Linked DNA regions of Homo sapiens: regions 2 and 3 are each linked to region 1. The links are contacts of gene promoters, found by promoter capture Hi-C in blood cells and fetal thymus (Javierre and others, 2016). All regions are on one chromosome and are shown on one strand. The core of a region is centred on a gene start or on the middle of the fragment in contact, and the rest is flanking DNA. Distances in the headings are between cores, read along the strand shown.

Region 1 (3,744 bases), core at 403-2,902:
TTAAAAAGTTGCATCTAAGTATTATTTACATAGGATTGATTCCTTGTCTGCAATATATTCTACTCCAATACAAGTAGGTGGTTGATGAGTTCTAATACAAGCTTCCATGTTCACTAGCTGTATAAACTTAGGCAAGTTTAAATTATATGTGCCTTAGTTTCTTTTTTTTGAGACAGAGTCTCACTCTGTTGTCCAGGCTGGAGTGTAGTGGTGCCATCTCAGCTCACTGCAACCTCTGCCTCCCAGGTTCAAGCGATTCTCCTACCTTAGCCTCCCGAGTAGCTAGGATTACAGGTGTGTGCCACCACCTCTGGCTAATTTTTGTATTTTTAGTAGAGATGGGGTTTCACCATGTTGGCCAGGCTGATCTCAAACTCCTGACCTCAGGTGATTTGCCACCCACCTCAGCCTCCCAAAGTGCTGGGATTACAGGCATGAGCCACTGCGCCCAGCTGCCTTACTTATCACTAAAATGGGGATACTAACACCTCATAGAGATATTGAGACTTAAGATGTACAGATATCTATATATGCAAAAACATCAAACGTTCCTGACACAAAGCACGATACAAGTATATACTACTACTGTTGTTATTGTTATATTGCTATTATCTATCCTACTGATTCTAGTGGGATAGTTAAGCTGGAATCTCTCCAGAAAAATACACATAAGTAAAAGGTATTGAACACAACTGCAGAGGACCCAGGGATCCCAGATTAACCCTGCCAAAGATGATCCACAAGCAAGTTGGTTTAGTAAAGCAGTTCTTAACCTCTTCTGTGACACAGACCTCTTTAGTAGTCCAATTAATCTATGGATCTCTTCTCCGTTTTTTTACATTTCTAAAATATATAGGATCACAAAGTAAACCAATTATATTGAAACGCAGTTATCAAAATATTTTAAAATGTCTAATATAGCAATACGTTAACAATATTTTTGACATATAGCAAGTAATGAGCATAAATATTTCAAGATAACTGCAAAAGCTGTAATACATGTAAAAAAGTGATTTGTCTTGGTGACAAGGTCACATACACTGTTGCTGCCATTAACATTTAAAGAATTTTCACTTCTTTTCCATTTAGATTTCAGTTAGAAGCTAGAGAAAATAAACACGCAAATTTTTTTCCTCAACCAAGCTTAGGTACTTACTTCCTCAATTCTATCCAAAAACCTAGATTAAGAACCTTTGACTTATGGGAAAGTACAAAAATAATTTTGAAGCCAGAAATTTATGTTCTAGAAGTCAGACTTCAGACTTTAGCCCCCACATTATTTACACTTGAATGACCTTAGACATCTAACTTCTGAGCTTTGGTTCTCTCACTGAGAATAATTCCTCTATCATGAGGTTACAGGGATCAAATATTAGTTAACAAAACGCCAAACGACCAACATGTTGTTTTTCACTGATTTTAATACCACATATTCAGCCCCAAATATTTAAAGACAGTTAATTTTCAATAAAACTCATATGAGAAAATGAAGAATGACATAGTGACTCACAAAGAAAATGATTAATGGAGATACAACTTTTAAACACTAGTTTGGCGAGAGATACGATAGAATTTGTCTAACCTGGGGAGTCGGACAGGCCTGAATTGCTAACATCCCGTCCATGATTTGACATCAGCATGACCTGGATCTAAATCCCAGTTAAACTACTTTACTTTTACTAAGTAAAGTTACTTTAACCTCTGGGGCTCGGTTTTGTCATCTGTAAAACATATTAAGTATCGCTTTAGAGACAGGAGAAGACCTAGTTTAAACAATAAATGGAGCTGTTATTAAAACTTACATTTTAATAAAGCCAAAGGAATCAATTTGGAAGTCAAAAGTATATTGTGGAGTTCCTGTCAATATAAACTTCACAATCTTTCTTCTGCCCAGCAAAACACACACTTAAAACCTGTGGTATTTACATAGCATAACATTCCTTAAAAAAACTGGCTGGCACTGGCTTAAAATCTTATCTGATTTCTTATTCTGCCTAAGGAAAACAACAATGAGGACAGAAAACAGTAAACAGAATGAGTTCAGTAATTTTAAGTCTTTTCATGATTTCCCCGGAATGTTCCAATGAATGTTTATTATGAATGTTAGATACACTCTAATGTAGCAGTCTTTTAAAAAACTAATTTAAAGATATCAAGCTTATCGGCGACACAATATCAGTTAGTTTAAAGAGAAAAAAAAACCGTAAAATCATTTATTTACTTTATGCTGGAATATTACGGAGTAAGATTTTCCCACAACCCGGAAAAAAAAATCTGCCATAGGCTGGCCCCGGCTCCTAGATTCATTATACAACCCGTAAATTCCTTCCCTCATTGAAAAGATTCTTCTTATGGGCATAGTTAACAAATGCCAAGTTGCGAAGTTGCAGCTTTGCTGGTTTGACGTTTTCACAATGTAAGAACAATATGATCTGGAATCTACTCAAAGCATTAGCCAGGCAGTCAGCTGACGCTCACTGCACACAAGAGGACAGAATTAAGGGAAATTAAATTTCGTATTTCTGTAAGGCAGGTATCCAACTCTATCTTGAAAACTAAAATAGGCCAACAGCAGACGTTCTAGTTTAAGTAATAAAAGTGTCTCATTGTTCAAATAACATTACAAAAAACGGCTTTTCCCGGAATAAGTTTCCCTCATTCTTGGAATTTTCCTTGTAAAGGGCTTTTAATCGGTTCATAGAACCAACCCTTCATCACGCAGCTGCTGCTTGAGTAACTTTTACAAAAGGTCAAAGCGGTGCCTTTCAAGGCTTCCAAACCCTACTGGCTTCTCCTCGATTCAAAGTAACTCGCTTTCACCCACAGAACGTTCCAGAGACCTAGGGACGGGGCCCGGGCAGAATTTGGTGGAAGTTGCTCAAAAGAACTTTTCAATTTTCTTTTCAAAATACTTACCGCATTTCACCTTTCTCCATCCGTGGCCCCACATGTTGCTCGCCTCCCTCCCAGAGGGGCCCCGCGAGGCCGCGCTCGGCCCCCGGAACGCGCCCACCTGATTACCCTCTCCTCCCTCAGACTCCGCCCCCCAACCCCCCAATGCTGCCTCCTTTAGGAGGTCCATATGGGACACTTTCCCCTTCCTCTGAACCTCACCGCCACACCAGAACAGCCCTCCGTTTTTCTCCTTCAATTCTTCTCCACTACGGGCCTCACCTCCCATAGCTTCCTAGAGTGTTGTGAGCGCGCAGAGGGAAGCTGCAGGCCTGCTCGGCCCAGGTGCTGTGTCAGCCTATCTGCCGGTTCCGCGGCGTGTACGGCCCGGAAAGTCACATGGCGGTGGGACCGGCCGGCGCCTCTACACTCCTGCTCTCCTAAGAGCAGGACGAGACTAGCATAATGCACTCACCTCCACGAAAAGCAACATGTCGTCCTCTGCTCAGCCCAATCGTTCCCGCCGCCGCAACTCCAACTGGCTCACAGGCCCGCGCCCCAATTGCTAGGATAAGGACACACACTCGCCTTGCCCCTCCACCCGGCAGTGGACCCGGCTCCTCCCCTGCCGTCAGCCGCTGCGGCCTGACCCGCCCAGTCCCACCTCCCTTGAAACAACAACTGCTTCCGGGTCTAGGGAAAAATTGTTTCCGGGAGAAAAGAGAGCCCTCGGCGCGCTCAACTTTTGCACTATCTTTTCCAGCAGCAGTGTGGGATGTACTATCATCTGTCGGGGGGAACGATTAGAAGGAGACGCCATTCTGTGGCACGGGGATGTGTAAAAATCGTAAT
Region 2 (3,744 bases), core at 588-3,087, 650 kb before region 1:
TACATGAAAACAGAAAAAGCAGCCAATTTTATCTCTACAAATTAAGGATAAGTAATTTTTCAAGTCCATGAAGCTAGTAATAATTATGATAATGTTCAGATTTGACAATGTAGTTTATTATAGTGTTATGATAAAAGCATAGAGCATATTATAGATTTGGTGCAAAAGCAATTGTGGTTTTTGCCACTGAAAGCCAAAAGCCGCAATTACTTTTGCACCAACTTATAATACTGTTAGGTAACATTTAGATGAAAATAAGTTAACATTTACTTGGCACTTACTAGGGATCAGGACCTGTTCTAGGTACTTTACATGTATCAATTTTTAAAGTCTTCACAATCATGTGATAAATAGGTAGGTTCCATTACTCCCATTTTACACATAAGAAAACCAAGGAAAGAGGGGTTAATTAATTAGTCCAATCGCACAGTGACGAACTGGGATTTGAATCAGGCAATCTGGCTCCAGAGTAGACACTTGACACGATACATATCTTCTCCTAGTAACTAAGGATCTCTGATTTGAAACAAAACATTTAGAAACCAAGTATTATGTAGGGCTATTGCCACTACAACATACTACCTAATATAGATTCATAACAAGGGTTAGACCTCATTTTCCTATGGGTAAGTCAACTGATACATCACAGGGCAGGTCTATACAGCCACAGATCCCTGCCGTGTGCAAGGCAAAAAATTTCTACTATAGCCAGGTGTGTGGTTAAGAAAGTACGAGAACATACCTATATTCTCCCTCCCTCATGTTGCTGTCATAAGTTGTTTCTCATAACATCTTTCTAGAAACATTCTCAAGAAGTGCTAATTTATAGGAATTAGTTTAAGGCGCAGGCATTTATGAAATATAAGATATCTCGGCTCACATCCCCATAGCAGAACCTGCAAATGATCTTATTTATGCTAACTCTTTGACCCTGCCCAAGAGCTGATTCCGGAATTTCTATTGTAGTTTCGTTTTTACCTTTCATGAAGATTGTGTACAGGACATAGAAGCGGGGGAAATGACGACCCAAGAAACGATGGTATTTCCCATTAATCGCTTTTGTCTTGGTTACCACATAAGACATCAAGTTCTTCACATCTGCCTTTGGAGAAAGGTGAAGCTTTGAAGACCTACAAGGAAGATCAAAGAGACTATCTGGGAATCAGTCCTAGAAGCTCCCTCACGCCTTGAGTCCCTAATGTAAAGCAGGAGTCTCGGAGATTGTATCCCAAGGCTTGACACTTCTGAAATCCAAGGAAGGTCTTGGGGTCAAGAAGAGATAGGCAATCAGACTGTGAAACACAAATCAGGCAAAGGCCAGGCAGGAAAGTAACTCAGGGTATGCCTCTGGAGAGAGCGCAATGCCTGTGGGACAATTTGAACTGCAGGCTAAGTCAGAAAGAGGTGGAATCGAGATAGCAGCGGTAAAACCTGAGCCGAAAAAGTGAGGCTGAAAGATGAGCTCAGGACACGCGGGGAAACCAGACAATATGGGGCACTGAGAGTACAGAGGGTCAGGAAGCCGGGTCACTAGTGGGGATCGGAGTTTGAATCCTGAACAGAAGAATAAAAATTCCAGGGCCAAGGCGTGGAACTCTGAGAATTAAGAGACAGAATGCAAGCAAGGTTGAGACACTGAAAGAGCCTGGACGTCAAAAATGCTTTTCTCGCTACAGGTCCCTCACCGAGGGGCCCCCCAAGCCAGGCCAGAGCGACCAAGTTGCAGCCTCCGGGTGACAAAATGTCCAGGGGTGACTGCCGAGCCCCACACAGCCGACCGAGCCCAGCACACCCTGGAGAGCGCCATCTTCACAGCGAGAGAAGCGGGAGAGAAGAGGTTGTCTTTGGGTCAAAGTTAACCGTACGTCGCGTTCGTTCGAAGACGCATGCGTCTTTTCTGAGCGCTGATTGGTAGCCATAGCCTGCTTGGCTCCAGCACAAGCCAGGAGAGGGAAGGACTCAAAGACTAAGTGCGGAAGGAGGGCCAGGATTGGACACAGCAGTACTTCCAGGTTTAAAGGCGCCGGAAACAGGGTGTCCCAGAGGGAGCGAGTTCTTATGCCACTGGTGTGGGTTTGCGACGCGGAGGGCACCCTGTCCTTGAGGCGCCCAGTGACCCTCCGCGATTCCTTAGGGCCTCAGGGCTTCCCAGCGCCGCCCTTGCCCTCTGCCTGGACTCGGGGCGTCGGAGCCTCGACTGTTAGGTAGCAGATGTCAGTTTGCCAGTGCCTGGGGCTAGGAGGACCCGCGGCGCCCTCTAATGGTGCCGGCGTGGATAGGCCGGGAACTGTCCACTTTCCAGTCAGTCTGGCGGCGAAGGTTGGAGGCCTGGGAGCGGCCCCTGTGCGGACTGAGTACACTTTTTCCTCTCTTTGTCGTTTCCAGAACTAAGTTTGTGGGAAAATGGTTTTCGTTAAGCACCTACCGAAGACCAAGCTCTGTCTCAACTTAAATGTTACTATTCTGAGAGGATTTCTGTGACCACCCTATCTGAAGCAGTGCCGGCGAAAAGGACACACTTCACACTTATTCTCATGTTACTCTGTTTTGTTTTGTTTTGTTGTTTTGTTTTTGTGACAGTTTTGCTCTGTCGCCCCGGCTGGAGTGCAGTGGCGCGATCTTGGCTCACTGCAGCCTCCGCCTCCCGGGTTCAAGCGATTCTCCTGCCTCAGCCTCCCGAGTATCTGGGATTACAGGCGTCCGCCACCACGCCCGGCTAATTTTTGTATTTTTAGTAGAGACGGGATCTCACTATGTTGGTCAGGCTGGTCTTCAACTCCTGGCCTCAAGTGATCCGCCAGCCTTGGCCTCCCAAAGTGCTGGGATTACAGGCGTGAGCCACTGCACCCGGCCTTGTATTTTCTTTGTAGCATCTGTCACTTACAGTGTTTATGTATTTGTGTCCTTGTTTGACAGCTCCCTGAACTAGAATGAGGGTAAGCATCTTCTCTGCCTTGTTCATTGCTGCACCTCCAACACTAGGTGCCTTACTTAGCACATAGTAGGTGTTCAGTAAACATGTTTGAATAGATTCATACTTGAAACTAAGAAGGATTCCCAGAAGTGGTACTTAACTGCCTCCAAGAATTAACAGTCCTCTTGGATATATATGAATATTTATTCTTCATGGAAGGTGGTAGAGCATCCCATGTGGGTTCCCTGGATATAGGTTCAATCTTGGCATTGACGTTTGTTTTAGTGAATGTTACCTTGGATATGTCACTTTAGCTCTGAGTTTATTTCCCTTATAATAGTACCTACTTTATAAGAAATCTTTGAGGATCCAAAGAGAATACAGCTGTGAAAGCTCCCACATCTGTATAATGCTTTATGGGTCACAGAGCTTTATATTAGCACAGGTTATTAATGACTGTACCACTCGTGCAGTCAGAGGAAAAGTTTTAAAAGATGGCCCTGGATCTTCACAAGTGTTGGGTAGATGGGGTGGACGGGATAGAAAGTTGACTAAGACGGCTGGGCGCCGTGGCTCATGCCTGTAATCCCAGCACTTTGGGAGGCCGAAGCGGGCTGATTACCCGAGGTCAGGAGTTCGAGACCAGCCTGGACAACATGGTGAAACCTCATCTCTACTAAGAATACAAAAATTAGCCGGATGTGGTGGTGGGCGCCTGTAATCCCAGCTACTCGGGAGGCTGAGGCAGGAGAATCGCTTTAACCCAGGAGGCGGAGGTTGAGGTGAGCCAAGATCGCACCACTGCACTCCAGCCTGGGCAACAGAGTGAG
Region 3 (3,744 bases), core at 868-3,367, 620 kb before region 1:
GAAATCTTAGAATAAAATTTTTGAACTCAATAAATTGTTAATTAATATCTAGGAGTGGCAGATATATAATGCTTCTCTTTTCACGACAGGTCAAAGATGAAATCTGATTAGGCTTTGGAGGGCGTGGTTTGCCTCTTGAAATTCCTTGCTCGTCTTTAGAAAGCTGTGTTGCTTAGAGCACCCAAAAGTGCCCTTTATCTAACTGAGGGAGGCGCACTTGTCTTCATATATAGAGGCAGGAGCTGGCATTGGGAAAGTCAAACTAGTTCTGCACCATGAGGAAGAAGCAGCTGAAGACGGAGGCAGCTCCACACTGTGAACTAAGTAAGTAGCCCAGGGAAGCTGCCCAGCTGAGCAGACCTGAAAGGGTGACAAGTACAGCTCTAGCAATTTTATTTTCTAGTTATAATAGAAGTTGCCAAAGGAAAGGTTCCGATCTGGAGGAACTTCATCAAACCTTTCTGAAACTCCACAGATGTACTGTAGCGAGAATCTCAGAACTAATTTGTGCATTTTCTTTTTTCTCCAGGAGAAATTCTGTATGAAAACCAACCTGCTCCAGGAAGCCAAGCCCCCCCCCCCCACTTTTTTTTGGTCCCCGAGTTTGTTTTTACTTCGCACTTTATTTGGATTTTTCTCTTTGCAGTTCACGCTCCTTTCCTCATTTCTTGGTCTCTCTTACTAATGAAATTTTCTCCTAGCTGTTTTTACGTGAATAAAGAAGCTCAATTACCTTTAATGCTGTAAGCAGTGCGAGGGGTCGGGGAGTGAGGGTGGCGGGAGGATCTAATGTTTTTGGTGGCTGTAAACGACATTGCAGAAAATTACGGTAATTTGTTAGGCCATTTATTCCCTCTTCACCAGTTTGGCAGTCTCATCTTCAGAGCAAAAGATACGGTGTGAGGCTGAAACTGGCGATAGAGTGGGATTGCTTTTGGGTAGGTAGGATGAAGTCTGGGGAGAATCGAGTCAGCTGGGCGAGGAGGAAAACAATTCACTACGGAGGCTTGGGAGGACACCTAAGGCGGTCAAACTGGCTGCACTAGCTGATGTTTCTCGGTTCCTCCCAGGTGTGGGGTGCTCTTGGTGGGGCAGCAGATACTATGATGTGGCTCTGGGGGCGCGAGGAAATGTTCCTTCCAGGTGGCTATCCTTTTTTTTTGAGACAGGGTTTTGCTCTGCCACCCAGGCTGGAGTGCAGTGGCACGATCTTGTCTCACCGCAGCCTCCACCTCCCAGGCCCAAGTGATTCTCCCACCTCAGCCCCCGAGTAGCTGGGACCACAGGCGGGCGCCGTGATGCCTGGCTAATTTTTTTTTTTTTTTAGACGGAGTTTTCGCTCTTGTTTCCAAGGCTGGAGTGCAATGGCGCGATCTCGGCTCACTGCACCTCCGCCTCCCGGGTTCAAGCGATTCTCTTGCCTCAGCCTCCCGAGTAGCTGGGATTACAGGCATGCGCCACCACGCCCGGCTAATTTTGTATTTTTAGTAAAGACGGGGTTTCTCCATGTTGGTCAGGCTGGTCTCAAACTCCCGATCTCAGGTGATTCGCCCGCCTGGGCCCTCCAAAGTGCTGGGAGTACAGGCGTGAGCCACCGCGCCCGGCCTTTGCTTGGCTAATTTTAAAATTTTTTGTAGAGACCGGGTCTCACTATGTTGCCCAGGCTGGTATCGAACTCCTGGACTCAAGTGATCCTCCCGCCTCGGTCTCCCAAAGTGCTGGGCATTACAAGTGTGAGCCTCCGCGCCTGGCCTGGCTACCCTTTACAGGATAGAGCTATACCTCGTAGCTTGATTGTCAGTACCTAACGTGGCGCCACGGCGAACTAGGGCAGGAATCTTATCTGTCCCCAGACTGCTAGCGGACTGGAGCTCCCCAGTCCAGGGGCTGTGTGGGTCTGGCCAACGCAAGCAGCAACTAGGCAGCATGCAGCTCCCGCCGGGTGCCCCAGGGGCCGCCGCGTGCCCCAGGGGCCGCCGCATCCAGACTCCGCGTGGGCGGAGCCTAGGTCCCTGGTCTGCGGGCCACGCATCCCGGCCGCTGCAGGGACTCCAGCCAATAGGGATGTGCGGCTGCCGTCCTGTCGACCAATCGCGGGGAGGGGAGGGCGTTAGCCAGCGTGGCGCTGGCTCCCGGAATATGGAGCCCTGGGCGCGGGGGCGGCGTGTCAGGTGGTTGCGGAGCTGGTAAGGTGAGGGGAAGGCAAGGTCAGGGGTCACGGCATTCCGCTCGCTGGCAGGGAGGGGCGCGGGGCGGCTCGAGGGCCTGTGTCGGGGGTCAGGCTCCGGGGCTAGGATGCGACACCGGCTCGCCGTGCGGGGCTGTGAGGGGAGGTGTGGCCAGGGAGGGCCTCAGGCCCAGAGTCCAGGACTGATGGAGTCGCGCCATTCAGAGAAAGACCCAAAGATGGGGGCAGGGAGGGAACGCCGGAGGTCGCGGGGGTCTCGCCCCTTCCCCGCCGCGGCCTAGGACACATGGCCCAGCTCCCAGCTGCACCGGATGGCGCGCCCGGCCTGTGTCGGGGTGCGCTGACCTGCTTCGACGCCTCGAAAGAGGCCGACGGGCACAGGGCAAGGTCTTTCGTGGCCTCTTCGTCGGCGCCGCAGGGGGCCGGGCTGCTCTCCGGGGCCTCCCGCCGCCCCGCTTCAACAAAAGACTCATTATAACCTAACCGACTTCAGGGAGCGCCTTCTGTGTGAATAGCCTGCATACGCGGCTCAGTAATTGTGGGTAGATTGGTTTTAAGGCTGTTTGTGTAGCTCTCAGGGACCCTCTGGATTCCAGGCTCCAATGAGCAGGGTTTTTCTACAGGGGGATATTGCACATATGTAAGTGGGCTGGATGGCTCTCCCAGCTGTGCGTTTCATGTGTCCCCACTTTTAAAGCTACCGCTTAAATGTGACATCTCTTGCAAAAGCAAAAATTATATGGAAGGAGAGTTTGCAAGGGGAGATAGGCTTCTAAAAACTTGCTGGCCTCAATTTTAGTGACTGTTGGTGAAAAATGGAGAAGCTATGTTTACACTGACTTCTGGAACCCGAAGCCCCACCAGTTCGCATGATTTCTTGGCTTTGTAAATCTTTGAGCATGTTGTTTGCCTCTTTCTTCTTTTGTTCCACGTACTTAAAATGGGGATTGATAATATCAGTCTTACAGGGTTGTTGGTATGAAATTAGTTAATAAACAACAAAGTACTTAGAACTCTTGATGTGGAGGAGTTTTTGTTGTTGTTACCTTCTTTCCCCTTAACACTTCTAAAGAATTCTAACCTTATTACTTATTCTTTGCTCAGAGTCTCATGACTTATCACCAGTGAACCCGCCGGCCTATACTTTCCATTGACATCATTAACTTTGATCTGAGGGTATAGTGTAGTTATATGTGACTAGAGGATTTCTGCTGCGTGTTTGTTTTATTAAATACGGTTGGAAACTATCATTATACTAGGTCATTTATTGTGATACCTGTGTTGGGTAAATGAAACCTGAAACCTTCGGCTGTTTATTTTTTCATTGGACAGTATTTCATTGACAGTCTTGCTTGGCCTACTCAGTTTATTTTGGAGCCAGTACTAAAAAGGCCATGATTGCAGCATACTTGGTTTCTCATGTTTCCGGAATGGCAGTGGGACTCGGGAGGGGAATTTCTGGGTAGCCTGGCAGCACTTCTTGTTAAGGAATGGGGAAGCTTCTTATGAATCTAATCTTACTCTAATGTTAGGAAATCAGCAGTGGTCCCTTGGAT

Evidence for each region. Contacts are between HindIII fragments. The CHiCAGO score rates a contact against its expected background, and 5 or more counts as called.
Region 2: a contact is called between the fragment with the promoter of LETMD1 here and a fragment that was not itself captured in region 1, in 1 of 17 cell types (erythroblasts). The highest score is 5.3, in erythroblasts.
Region 3: a contact is called between the fragment with the promoter of SLC11A2 here and a fragment that was not itself captured in region 1, in 2 of 17 cell types (erythroblasts and megakaryocytes). The highest score is 9.1, in erythroblasts.

Annotation. Positions count from the first base shown.
Region 1 is chr12:50,400,652-50,404,395 of GRCh38, reverse strand. LARP4 (La ribonucleoprotein 4) reads right to left here and starts at 3,511. Exons shown (of 16, transcript NM_052879.5): 1 at 3,368-3,511. The coding sequence starts at 3,385. The HindIII fragment of the contact is 1,014 bases long and covers 1,146-2,159 here.
Region 2 is chr12:51,046,420-51,050,163 of GRCh38, reverse strand. It overlaps LETMD1 (LETM1 domain containing 1), which reads right to left and starts at 1,837. Exons shown (of 9, transcript NM_015416.5): 1 at 1,686-1,837; 2 at 979-1,130. The coding sequence starts at 1,807. RefSeq lists enhancers at 1,054-1,592, 1,793-1,842, 1,593-2,131, 1,953-2,222, 2,313-2,392 and 1 more. The HindIII fragment of the contact is 4,204 bases long and covers 1,123-3,744 here.
Region 3 is chr12:51,024,757-51,028,500 of GRCh38, reverse strand. It overlaps SLC11A2 (solute carrier family 11 member 2), which reads left to right and starts at 2,117. Exons shown (of 16, transcript NM_000617.3): 1 at 2,117-2,191. RefSeq lists silencers at 1,737-2,456, 2,467-2,526 and enhancers at 1,932-2,543, 2,544-3,157. The HindIII fragment of the contact is 11,669 bases long and covers 1-3,689 here.